4 separate regions of the Homo sapiens genome follow, and all the other regions are linked to region 4. Evidence: promoter capture Hi-C in 16 types of primary human blood cells and fetal thymus (Javierre and others, 2016). All regions are on one chromosome and are shown on one strand. The core of a region is centred on a gene start or on the middle of the fragment in contact, and the rest is flanking DNA. Distances in the headings are between cores, read along the strand shown.

Evidence for each region. The method cuts DNA at HindIII sites, captures the fragments that hold promoters and counts their contacts. A CHiCAGO score of 5 or more calls a contact.
Region 1: a contact is called between a fragment that was not itself captured here and the fragment with the promoter of PADI4 in region 4, in 1 of 17 cell types (monocytes). The highest score is 5.6, in monocytes.
Region 2: a fragment that was not itself captured here is called in contact with the fragment with the promoter of PADI4 in region 4 in 4 of 17 cell types (neutrophils, monocytes, megakaryocytes and 1 more); the score reaches 14.8 in neutrophils.
Region 3: a contact is called between a fragment that was not itself captured here and the fragment with the promoter of PADI4 in region 4, in 6 of 17 cell types (neutrophils, monocytes, endothelial precursors and 3 more). The highest score is 16.0, in neutrophils.

The regions. Positions count from the first base shown.
Region 1 is chr1:17,154,747-17,157,754 of GRCh38, forward strand. No RefSeq gene overlaps it. Among named protein-coding and RNA genes, the nearest start is that of LINC02783, 34 kb to the right of the region's middle. The HindIII fragment of the contact is 795 bases long and covers 1,253-2,047 here.
Region 2 is chr1:17,132,953-17,135,693 of GRCh38, forward strand. It overlaps LOC105376808 (a long non-coding RNA gene), which reads left to right and starts at 2,713. Exons shown (of 3, transcript XR_947005.2): 1 at 2,713-2,741. The HindIII fragment of the contact is 4,354 bases long and covers 1-2,741 here.
Region 3 is chr1:17,070,622-17,073,647 of GRCh38, forward strand. PADI2 (peptidyl arginine deiminase 2) reads right to left here. Exons shown (of 16, transcript NM_007365.3): 14 at 785-870. Among named protein-coding and RNA genes, the nearest start is that of SDHB, 18 kb to the left of the region's middle. The HindIII fragment of the contact is 1,384 bases long and covers 901-2,284 here.
Region 4 is chr1:17,306,912-17,309,814 of GRCh38, forward strand. PADI4 (peptidyl arginine deiminase 4) reads left to right here and starts at 1,286. Exons shown (of 16, transcript NM_012387.3): 1 at 1,286-1,403. The coding sequence starts at 1,312. The HindIII fragment of the contact is 10,543 bases long and covers 1-1,693 here.

The DNA of each region.
Region 1 (3,008 bases), core at 400-2,899, 150 kb before region 4:
GGCCATCATTCTGCCTTGCACAGAAAGAGTAAGCATTCTGCCCCAAATAACACAGCCCAGAAGTAGCAGAGCCAGAACTTGAAGCCAAGCCCCAAATCCCAGTGACCTCTCCCACCGTGCTTTTCTGCCATTCTGGGTCTAACTTCTATTGATCAGGTGAGGGTTCACTCGAAGCTCACAGGAACTCTCTGAATTAATAAATCACTTTACAAATGAAGATGTCTCAGTAGGTGGTTGATAGATATGATTAGGGAGGACATACCTAAGGACATGCAGAAATGCCAAAGCTAGGAAACTGTCACGGCTGCCCATGGAAAGTCTGTCTTTCTGCCAGGGCTGGCCAAAAGATAGGGATTTGTTTCCCTATCTTTTGTTTAGCTGTGGCTCCTTTCAGTTGGAAGAAAACTGGCTGGTCTTGGCCAGTGTCCTCCACTGTGGGTTCTTTAGCCCTACCTGTATGCTTAGCCAGGAGACTCTGGGGCTTCACTGCAGATTTGCATTTGGGCAGATAACCTTGAGGTGATCAGCTAGCAGAAACTATGGAGAGAGGTGGAAGTATGGATGGAGCTGGAGGATGAGTAACCCCCACTTCCTGCTCTTCTACAATCCACTATAATAACAAGTGTTGTGGGAATCAGGAGGACCAGAGAGACCTTGGGGTGTATACAGGAGGATCTTTATTGAGTGCACTCAGACCCAGCAGACTTAACATCCAAAAACTGGGCCCAGAACAAAGACAGCACTTGACTTCTATACACACTTCAAAAAGGGGGTGGGCTAGCTAGAAGCAGGCTTACAGCGGCACAAAGGCAAGGACACAGAGGCAGAACAAAGACAGTTAATCAAGTTGTGACAGGTTCATAACTCAGGATTACACATGACCATTGCTATGCAGCCCAGATGTCTGTTATCTAGATTTCCTCTAGTGCCTAGCACAGACTTATCCCATAACCTTCACTATGGCAGCCAGGTGGCTGTATCTCAGGCCTGCTCAGATGGTTTATGACCTTCACTCCACTGCTTAGATAAAAGAGAATACTTCAAGTTACTAGTTACAGAGAACAGGAATCTATAAACTCATACCGTAAGATAAAGGAAAATCTGTTTTTCTCCTCCCTATGTTGAGGGAGTGCTGGGAAAATCTCCAGGGCACATTCCTTTGTGTCCTGGCTTCTTAGATAGTATCAAGACTTTTCCTAGGTCTGGGCTGTGCCTGTTGCTGCCTCTGGGGCAAGTCAGCCTAATACAGGAAAGCTTATTTCTCCTTTTTAAATTTTATTTTTCTTTCTTTCTTTAATTTCCCGCCTCACAAGTAGTGAGGCAGGAGAATAGGGTCTGGAGGCAGGGAACCTAAGGCCAATTCACACTAACTTCCTAGAACTAAATCAAAAGGAAAACCCCAACTTTCCACGCCTAAGTAACAAAAAGACCAGAGGCTACTCCCTTTGCAAACCCACACCTTTTCTGCCTGGCAAATGGCAAATTGAAAGTATCTCTGATTGGTTGCTTTCTTCAACCAATCATATGTTTGCATAGGAGTGTAATTTTTGTAACTTCACTTCAACCTCTGATTGGTTGTTGTCTGCAACCAATCAGACTGATTGCTGGCCAAGTCTTCGTGTGCATAGAAGTGCAACTTTGTAACTTCACTTTAACCTCTGATTGGTTGCTTTCCCCTGCTCAGGCTGCTTCCACACTGGAGTGTACTTTCATTTTCAATAAATCTGTACTTTCGTTGCTTTATTCTTTCCTTGCTTTGTTTGTGCATTTTGTCCAGTTCTTCATTCAAAACACCAAGATCCTAGACACCCTCCACTGGTAACAGTAGGGTTATGAGACCTTTATAAAAACAGTCAACTGAATTTCTTATGGGTACATTGTTGAAACTGTTTATATTTGTCAGGATACTGAATTAGGCCATTCTTGCATTGCTATAAAGAAATACCTAAGACTGGGTAATTTATAAAGAAAAGAGGTTCAATTGGCTTAGAGTTCTGCAGTCTTTATAGGAAGCATAGTGGCGTCTGCTTCTGGGGAGGCCCCAGGAAGCTTTCAATCATGGCAGAAGGCAAAGGGGGAGCAGGTGCATCATGTGGCAAGAGTGGGAGCAAGAGGGAGAGAGAGTTAGGTGTCCCACACATTTAAACAACCAGCTCTTGGCTGGGCATGGTGGCTCACGCCTGTAATCCCAGCACTTTGGGAGGCTGAGGTGGGTGGATCACGAGGTCAAGAGATCGAGGTCATCCTGGCTAACATAGTGAAACCCCGTCTCTACCAAAAATACAAAAATTAGCTGGGTGTGCTGGCACATGTCTGTAGTTCCAGCTACTCGGGAAGCTGAGGCAGGAGAATCACTTGAACCCAGGAGGCAGAGGTTGCAGTGAGCTGAGATTGCACCACTGCACTCCAGCCAGGTGACAGAGCAAGATTCCACCTCAAAAAAACAAAAACAAACAAAAACAAAAAAACCAGCCAGCTCTTGCGAGAAGTCACTATTGTGAGGACAGTACAGGGAGATGATGTTAAACTATTCATGAGAAAACCTCCCCCATGATCCAACCACCTCCCACCAGGTCCCATCTCTGATACTGGGGATTACAATTCAATACAAGATTTGGGCTGTATCAGATACTTTTCAGCAGCTACAAGTTGTAGAAAACCCAGTTCAACTAAAAATGGGAATTTATTGGCCCATGGAACTGAAGTCATGGGTAGGTTGGCCTTCAGGTACAGCATGATCCAGCAGCTCATATATGCTCATTTCCATAGCCTCAGTATTAGGTCTATTCTCAGTCATACTCTCCTTTTGTGTTCCAAAGGTGGCTGCAAGAAGTTTCTGGAACTCTATGTTTTTAGATTCATATGTGGTAGAACAGAAAAATGTACCTCTCTGGTGACTTAAAAAAGTTCATACATGGGATCTTGTTGGCTCCAATTGGCCTGCCTTGGGTCATCTGTCCATTTTCCAATCAATAGCTGTGGCCAGAAGCATGGGATATGCTGATTGG
Region 2 (2,741 bases), core at 87-2,586, 170 kb before region 4:
CATTGCTATGTTCTTGGTGCCCTGTGAAGGACCCAGCTCATGGTAGGTACTCTGTGAATGAATGAATGATTTCAGAACCTGAGAGAGGTCCCTGTTTAGCAGCTGGTGCAGAGGGAGTGCTACAGGGAGGCAGGTTTAGGCTCTTCCCAAGGTCAGGGATGTGACTGAGAAGCCAGCTGCCTCTGGAGGGCATGTGTCCCCCTGGGGCATTTCTGGCTCAGACTGGTCCTCCCTTTTTGGGGGGGTTGTCCTTGGCGATCTATGAAGACATCAGAGTGAGTCTTTACTGAGTTCAACACTGAATTTTCTTCTTGAGGCTGCCTGGGCTCTGACTGGGTTTTACCCCATAGAGGTACAACCTGGACACATTTGTTGAGTTGGTTTTTCCAGTGTCTTACTGTGTGTGGTTGGGACCAGTGCAGACCCTGGCCCGGGAGGCTCTGCGGTGCCTCTGAGCCCTGACACTCTGTCTGCCCCACCGTCCTGAGGTTGAGATGGCCCCACAGCCAAGTGGAGTGCGTCCCTGAGTCCTGTGGAATCCCAGTGCCCACTCAGGGCATGGCTTCTGGAGGTCCAAGAGAGGACACAAAGGTCACACAGGTGGGCTGCAGAAATGTGTCCTCCCTTGGCATCAGGAGGGCGACCTCCTGCCCTCACAGGCTCTCACGGGCTCCAAGCAGGGGCCCCGGGGTCTCCTGTGGGGCTGAGCTGCATGGAGTCACCTTTTGTTGACTGAAATAAAGAAACTGAGGCAAAATTAATATAGAGAGTTTATTTGGGCCAAGGTTGAGGACAGCAGCCCAGGACACACTTCTTTTTTTTTTTTTTTTTAGATGAAGTCTTGCTCTGTCACCCAGGCTGGAGTGCAGTGGCACGATCTCCGCTCACTGCAAGCTCTGCCTCCTGGGTTCATGCCATTCTCCTGCCTCAGCCTCCCGAGTAGCTGGGACTATAGGCACCCACGACCATGCCCGGCTAATTTTTTTTTGTATTTTTAGTAGAGACGGGGTTTCACCGTGTTAGCCAGGATGGTCTCGATCTCCTGACCTCGCGATACACCCGCCTCAGCCTCCCAAAGTGCTGGGATTACAGGTGTGAGCCACTGCACCCGGCCACCCAGGACACACTTCTAAGATGCCTTGGGGAGTGCTCCGTCCAGCCTTCATTACGAGCAGGTTTTTGAAGCAGATACAGTTGTTTGACAGGCATTCTCACTGGGTTGCAGAGATGACATTGAGCTGTGATTGGCTGTGCATTGTTGAATGATAGGGTATGAAGTATGGTGTCCAGATGGCATTTTATGGCTGCCTGGTGTCAGTCAGTCCACATAGCAAGTGGCTTCAAGAAGTCATTATTTAGCTCAAGGCAGGAGAGAGACATGGCTGCTGTCACATTTCAGTGCCTCTCTGGGCCTGATCGTTTAAAGGGGCTCACATTCCTCAGATACAAAATTTCTCTTTTTTCTCACCTTGCTCCCCAGCCAGGGCTTGCGGTGGATGCCTGGCCTGCAGCTGAGGACTGGCAGCAAGGCCTGGATTCCCAGAGGTCCTGTGAGGGGTCAGAGCCTCAACCTCAGCCTTGATGGAGCTGACTGCGTGCACAGATGTGCCGACACTCTCACCCGGCCCAGACACACATGTATGCATGCACACACACACACACACACCCCTTGGGGGCTACCTACACAACACCTGTGCACACACGCCCACACACCTGTGCACCCCCACATGCACACACACACATCCCTACCTACCCACACACCTGTGCACCCCCGCATGCACACACACATATGCACACACCCCTACCTACCCACACAACACCTGTGCACACACACTTACACACCTCTGTACCCCCCACATGTACACACACTCTCACACATACACACATCCCTACCTACCCACACACCTGTGCACACACACACCCATACACCTGAGCACCCCCGCATGCGCACGCGCACACACACACTCCTATCTACCCACACACCTGTGCACTCACCCACACGCCATGCACCCACATGCACACACAGATGCACACGCACACACACACTCCTACACCTACTCATAGAACATCTCTTTGCACAGCCACACACCTGTGCAGCCCCACCCACATGCACATACACACACACAGCCCCCTACACCTACTCACAGAACACCTGTGCACACACTCACACACCCATGCACCTCCTCCATGCACACACAATCTCTTCCTCCATCCTTCCCAACCCCCCGCCCACCCCCACACAATTCCCACACACAGCATGTCCTGCCTCAAGCCTGTTGAGCTCCAGGAAGTATGAGCTCCTGGTGGCCTCCCTGACATACTCTTTGTGGCCTTTCTCCAGCACCTTGTGCTGGTTCTCAATGGCCTTTAGCTCAAAATAGTCTATGTGCCGAAGAGACATATTTTGGGGTGGCTAGCACCCCTCTAGGAGAGCTTGCCTCCCCTATGGCATGAGCGAGGAAATGATCCTTTTCCTCCACCCACCTTAGGCTTTCTGGCTGGGGCCCCATAAGGGAGACTCGAAAAAGACAGATGAACAAGAGAAAAACAAACCGAAGTTCATTAATAAGTGCATTGTGTATACACATGAGAGCACCCAGCGATCAGTAACCAAAGGGGTGGGTGGGACTGGGGTTTAAATATCAACAAAGGAAAAGGGGTTTTGAGTTTCTGGGCTGGGGAGGGCTGTTCTGGGAAGGGGTCAGGAGGAGATGTAGGTAAATAAGAGTTATCTTGTTCTG
Region 3 (3,026 bases), core at 343-2,842, 240 kb before region 4:
TTTAAGCTCCAGCCCTGTAATATAGATGCTATTATTATTCCCTTTTAATTTTTTTTTTAAGACTGAGTCTCACTCTGTTGCCCACGCCGGAGTGCAGTGGCACGATCTCGGTTCACTGCAACCTCCACTTCCTGGGTTCAAGTGATTCTTCTGCCTCAGCCTCCCAAGTAGCTGGGATTATAGGCGCCTGCCACCACGCCAGGCTAATTTTTGTATTTTTGGTAGAGATGGGGTTTCAACATGTTGGGCATGTTGGCCTTGAACTCCTGACCTCAGGTGATCTGCCCACCTCAGTCTCCCAAAGAGTTGGGATTACAGGCATGAGCCACCAGGCCCGGCCAAAGTTTTTATTTATTTTTTTTGTAGAGACAAGTGTCTCACTATGTTGCCCAGGCTGGTCTCAAGCCCCTGGCCTGAAGCAATCCTCCCGCCTTGGCTTCCCAAAGTTCTGAGATTACAGGCATGAGACACTGTGTCTGGCCCCCATTATCCCCTTTTTAGAGATGAGAGACCCAAAGACAGCCTTAGTGAGTTGCCCATGGTCCTACCTCCCCAAGTGAGGGGGCGGCACAATTTGGCACTTCTTTAACCCTGGGACTTTAGCCCAGGAGCAAAGCAAGGAGGCTGGCTGGATGCTGGTGGAGGCTCTTCCCTGTGCTGCTGTGCTCGGGGTCAGGAGCTCCTGAGCCCTTGGCCATTCTCTACGGAAGCCCCAAGGATGTAAGGGCCTGAGCCTCATCCCTCCCAGGGGCCCTCTGGCCCTGCACCCCTGCCCTGCCCTCACCTGGAAGTACAGGTTCTCCTGCACAAGGCTCTCGTTGGACAGAATCTTGTTGATGGTGATTCGCTTGCTGCTCATCCCACCCAAGCCTGTGGGGTTCAAAGGACAGGGGATGGTCAAGCTTTAGATACCCAGGCTGAGTGTTCCCCTTTTGCCAAGATCCTCCAGGCCTGGGCTAACTGCTGGACTGGGACTGGGGAGATGGGACTGGGGAGAGGCTGGATCACAGGAGGGCACTCCCAGGCAAAATCAGGCCCCCCTCTGTCTGGGGAGGGCAGCACACACTCTTTTCTCCAGAGTTGACCATGACATCTGAGCCAGGACAGTGGTGGCAGCTGCCTTGCTCTTGCTTTGGCCAGTGGGATCAGGGGTGCTACAAGTAGCCCCCTGGTTCTCCCACCTACAGCCTACTCCTAAGGATGAGCAGCTGACCAGCATGAATGTGGCAGAAGCAGCATGGCCAAAGGGGACACCCTTCCTGTTTTCCAGAGCTGCCTCATCTTGGCTGCTGCTCTGGAGTGGCCTGCGTTTTCCTCCTGTACCACACGATGGCTTATGTGGCTTCCAGCTTGATTAGTAATGCCTAATGCTCAATGAGCACCTACTATGTGGCCGACGCTCTTCTAAACGCTTTACATTGAATTAACTCATGGATCCTCCCCACATTTCTATGGGGTAGTCACTACCCTGAAAAATGAGGAAACTGAGGCACAGAGAAGTTATGTGACTTGTCTCAGGACTTACATCTAGCAAGCGGCAGAGTTGGTGTGCAGATCAGGCAGTCTGATTCCAGAGCCTATGCTCTTAACCTATTATTTGTTTATTTATTTTGGCCTCATCTGGGAAGAGACTGCTGGTCCATTGCACTTCCCAGGTTTATAACTGGACAGCAGTAAAGATGCCCAGCTACAAGCCGGATGTAATCTTTGAGGCTTAGGGACTCAGAAGGGAGGGTCCAGGTAGAAACAGAAAACTTTAGGGATCTGTGATTTTCTAAAACTGATCCAAGTTCAGGAGATAGATTGATATAAGCATTTTTCTGGAGGGCAAGTCTGTAGTTTTTATCATCTTTTAAAGGGATGTGTTTTCCCCAAACATTGTGGGCTCTGGTCCAGCGGAGATCTTGGCTCTTTGGCATTGCCTGGTTCACCTTCCTCCCCAGGTCTCCTATGTGCTTCTACTCTCTGCTGACTGCACATCCGCGCATCCTCTCTCTGTCTGTCCCAATTACATGAATGTCTAAGTCCAGGAGATAATGTTTCACTCCTGAACTGACAATGACGATGCCTGACCATGCCTTCTGTCCATCAAAGTCCAGTTTTCTTCCTGTCCCCAAACTGTATTCTATCTATTTTCTCTCTATCTCTCTTTCTAAAATACAAAGAGAAATCTGGGGCACTGCTTGCCCCTATTTGTACAAAAATAATGGTCCCTATATCCTATGGGTAGTTTTTGAGGGTATGTTTAATATTAGAGAGGAAGCCTCCAGGAAGTCAGGACTCAAGCTTGCCAATCCAAGAACAAACTTCCCATCAGTGGGGAATTTAAAAAGGGTGGTGGTGTTAAATTGGTCTTGTCTGTCCTAGACACCAGTGACAGTCAGGAACACTGTCTTTGGATCTGAGGGGCAGTCATGTAAGTATCAACCAGCTGCGGGAACTCAGGCTTTCAGGCATGAGATATATTATGGATACCAACCTGAAAAGTGACAAAAGTAATTTAAGAAAAAAATAGGCCGAGCATGGTGGCTCACGCCTGTAATCCCAGCACTTTGGGAGGCCGAGGCGGGTGGTTCATGAGGTCAGGAGATTGAGACCATCCCGGCTAACATGGTGAAACCCCACCTCTACTAAAAATACAAAAAATTAGCCGGGCGTGGTGGCGGGCGCCTGTAATCCCAGCTACTGGGGAGGCTGAGGCAGGAGAATGGCTTGAACCTGGGAGGCGGAGCTTGCAGTGAGCCGAGATGGCACCACTGCACTCCAGCCTGGACGACAGAGTGAGACTGTGTCTCAAAAAAAAAAAAAAAAAGTATAACGGATATAGAGAGTGCTGATGGTTAGTCAGCATTGTAGATGTATTTAATGTCCCGGAACTGTGTCCTTACAAGTGGTTAAAATAACAAATGTGTTAGATTAGGTATATTTTATCACAATAAAAAACATGTTGGACATAAGGATGGCAATGGCAAACACTGGGGACTATTAGAGTGGGGAGGGAGAGAGGAGGGAAAGAGTTGAATGAC
Region 4 (2,903 bases), core at 36-2,535:
GAACTAAAGCCTGTTTGATCCCACAGCCTGACTCTGAATTAATGAGGCAAATTCTTTGCTTCAAAGCCAAAGCAAGCAAACAAAAAACAAACGCAAGATATCCAACCCACGAAACGCTCTATGTTCACGCCAGACTCCCATGCATGCACCCTTTGAGTGCTCCTTGTTGGGACCCATCCACCACCCCCCAGTTGCCTCATTAAAGGCAGAGCCTGGCACCAATGGCCCAGGTGCAACCACAGCTCTGAGGCCACATGGGCATCCCCCTGGCAGGCGTGGCCCACACCTGCACTGTCTGGTCTGACACCCAGAGGCCCTGGCAAGAGGCAGGTATCCTGGAGCATGCAGAGAACATCAACTTCCATGCCAGGAAGCTCATCTTCTCTTCCCAGCTCTGCCGCATTCTAGCTCTGGCACCTTGGGCAAGAGCTAGTCACTTTTACTCTCTGAGCCTCAATTTTCCTTCTGTAAAATGGGTTGTAATAATAAGCCCATATACACCTTGTATTGTAGCGAGATGTAGCTGTGATACAGTCTGGAAAGCACGTGTCATATAGACAGGCAGCTAATGAATCTCACACTCTGGAACTGGACACCTTTGGTTCCAATTCTGGCCCTACCACTCTCGAGCTGTGGAAGAACTGCACCTCTGTTTTCTCCTCTGTAAAATGGGTATAATAATGGCACCAACCTCAGAGGGCTGCTGTGAGGGTGAAATAAGGGGATAATGGTATGATCTAGTTCACGGGTTTGTCGTAATGAGCTATTCTATGTGAAGTGCAGGAAAACGTGCCTGGCATAGAGAATGTGAGCTGTCATGTGGGTGGCCCAGGTGGAGAGACTTGTCCCAAGCCTGGTTGGTCTTTGAACGTGTAGCCTGGCCTGTGACTGCTTACCTAAAATCTCCCCGCTTTTCCCACCTTCTCCTCTCTGATATGCCTGTTTGACATAGGTGAGATTGGATAGATCAAGGTGTTCAGGGCCTCTAGGCAGGGATGGGACTGTGGGCATGAGGACCAGGACCCAACCCCTCAGCCCCACTCTCCACCCCAGGCTTTCTGAGCCATCCATCCTTCCCAAGAAACTGACAGAGCCACCCTGCCACTGGTACCAGCATTGACACCCATCTAGAGGTCCGAGGGGCAGCCCCAGGGCAGAGGAGATTTTGAGAGCCCACACCCCTGACCTGAGTGGGGAGGGGTTGAGCCTCTGGGCCACAGACCGCAGGTGCTGACTCATGGCCTCTGCTGGGCGATATAAAGGAACCAGCCCAGGGGCTTCCTACAGCCAGAGGGACGAGCTAGCCCGACGATGGCCCAGGGGACATTGATCCGTGTGACCCCAGAGCAGCCCACCCATGCCGTGTGTGTGCTGGGCACCTTGACTCAGCTTGACATCTGCAGGTAAGAGGGGGGCCTTCTGGGGTTTTGGAGGCAGGTCAGGAGATGCTGGATGACCCAGTTCTACTGACACAGGAGCATGTGTTTGGCCCAGGCTCTAGGCTCCAGCCTCTGCAGCCACTGCCAGGGGAGTAGCTGGAGAGAGAAGACCCCAGCAGCCCTGGGAAGTGCCAGTCTCATGGCTGTGGGTTCTTTGCCATGTACAAGTGCAAATTCCCCAGGAACACACGACAGATAAATTATTATGGGGCAAACCAGGCCATCCATCTCCCTGTCTTCATCGAGGCAACAGAAGCTTACAGAGAGTCTGTGACTTGCTCAAGGTCACACAGCACGTGTGCCCTGGAAGTAAGGTTAGCCCCTGGGCCTCCTGGTTCACAGCACAGTTTGTTACCCCACATCTCTTAGCTAAGCCTCCCTCAGTGGGTGCATAATAGCGTGGGTGGGGATGGCGAAACGGGGCTCTGTGGCGGCAGAGACTGAGGTAGGAAGCCTGGACCTGCTGCTGGCTAGCAAGGAGGCCTTGGGCAACTGAGCCTCAGTTGCCTCATCTGTGAAATGGGGATAATACTCACATCATGGGCTGGTTATAGGAATTCAATGTGAAAAAATGTGCAGATGTTGGCTGAGTACTTAGCACAGTGGTGGGCCCATCCTTGGTAGTTTTTATTTACTCATTTAACAAATGCTGAGTGCCATGCTCTGTGGCAGGGTCTGGGTTAAACAAGAGAGTTGAGGAATGCTCTCGGGGAGTGTGCAGGGTCATTGTTGTTATTGTAGAACAGGAATTAAAAGAAATTTTAAAACGTGTAAGCAAAAACTCAGTTCTATGTTAAAAAAAAAAAAAACAATTTTCCCTGGAAAAAAAAAAAAAAAAGAGCTGGAGTCCCTTAAAAATTAACTGCCTGTTTTTTTGTGGCTAGTGAGCCTTATTGCTCCTCTTTTTCCAGGCATTGTAAAGACCCTGTTTCTCCAGCTGTGCAGCTGCAAGGTCACTAGACAGATAAACTCAAGCTGTAAAAATTTTTTTCCTTAAAAAGTAAAAAATAATATAATGCATGTCTCAATTAAATAACTGTCTTTGTTTCTTGCCTCTATAATATGCTTCCCCCTGCACAGATCTACCCCCGCCCCATGAAATGCTTAAAAGATAACTTAACTCTTTGTTCAGGGCTCAGTCTTTTGAAATGTTAGCCTGACTGAGCCAGTGAATCTAAATAATAAATCCTCCTCAACCCCTCGGTCTCTCTGATTCCTAAATTATCCTGCAACAATTGCTGTTGTCAGGAATAGGAGTGGTTGCCCCTGGCTTCCCCATCCCAGTCTGGGCATCGGTGGCCCTAGAATGGTGCCCACAGGAGTGCCGGGGACATTTCTTTGCTACTGCCTGAGCCCCAGCAGCCAGAGAACAGCAGGAAATGTCGGGATGGTCTCCCAGGGCCACATGGTGGAGGCAGGAGACCAAGAAGTTGGGGAGAAAAGGAAAAAGAAAATCACCTGACA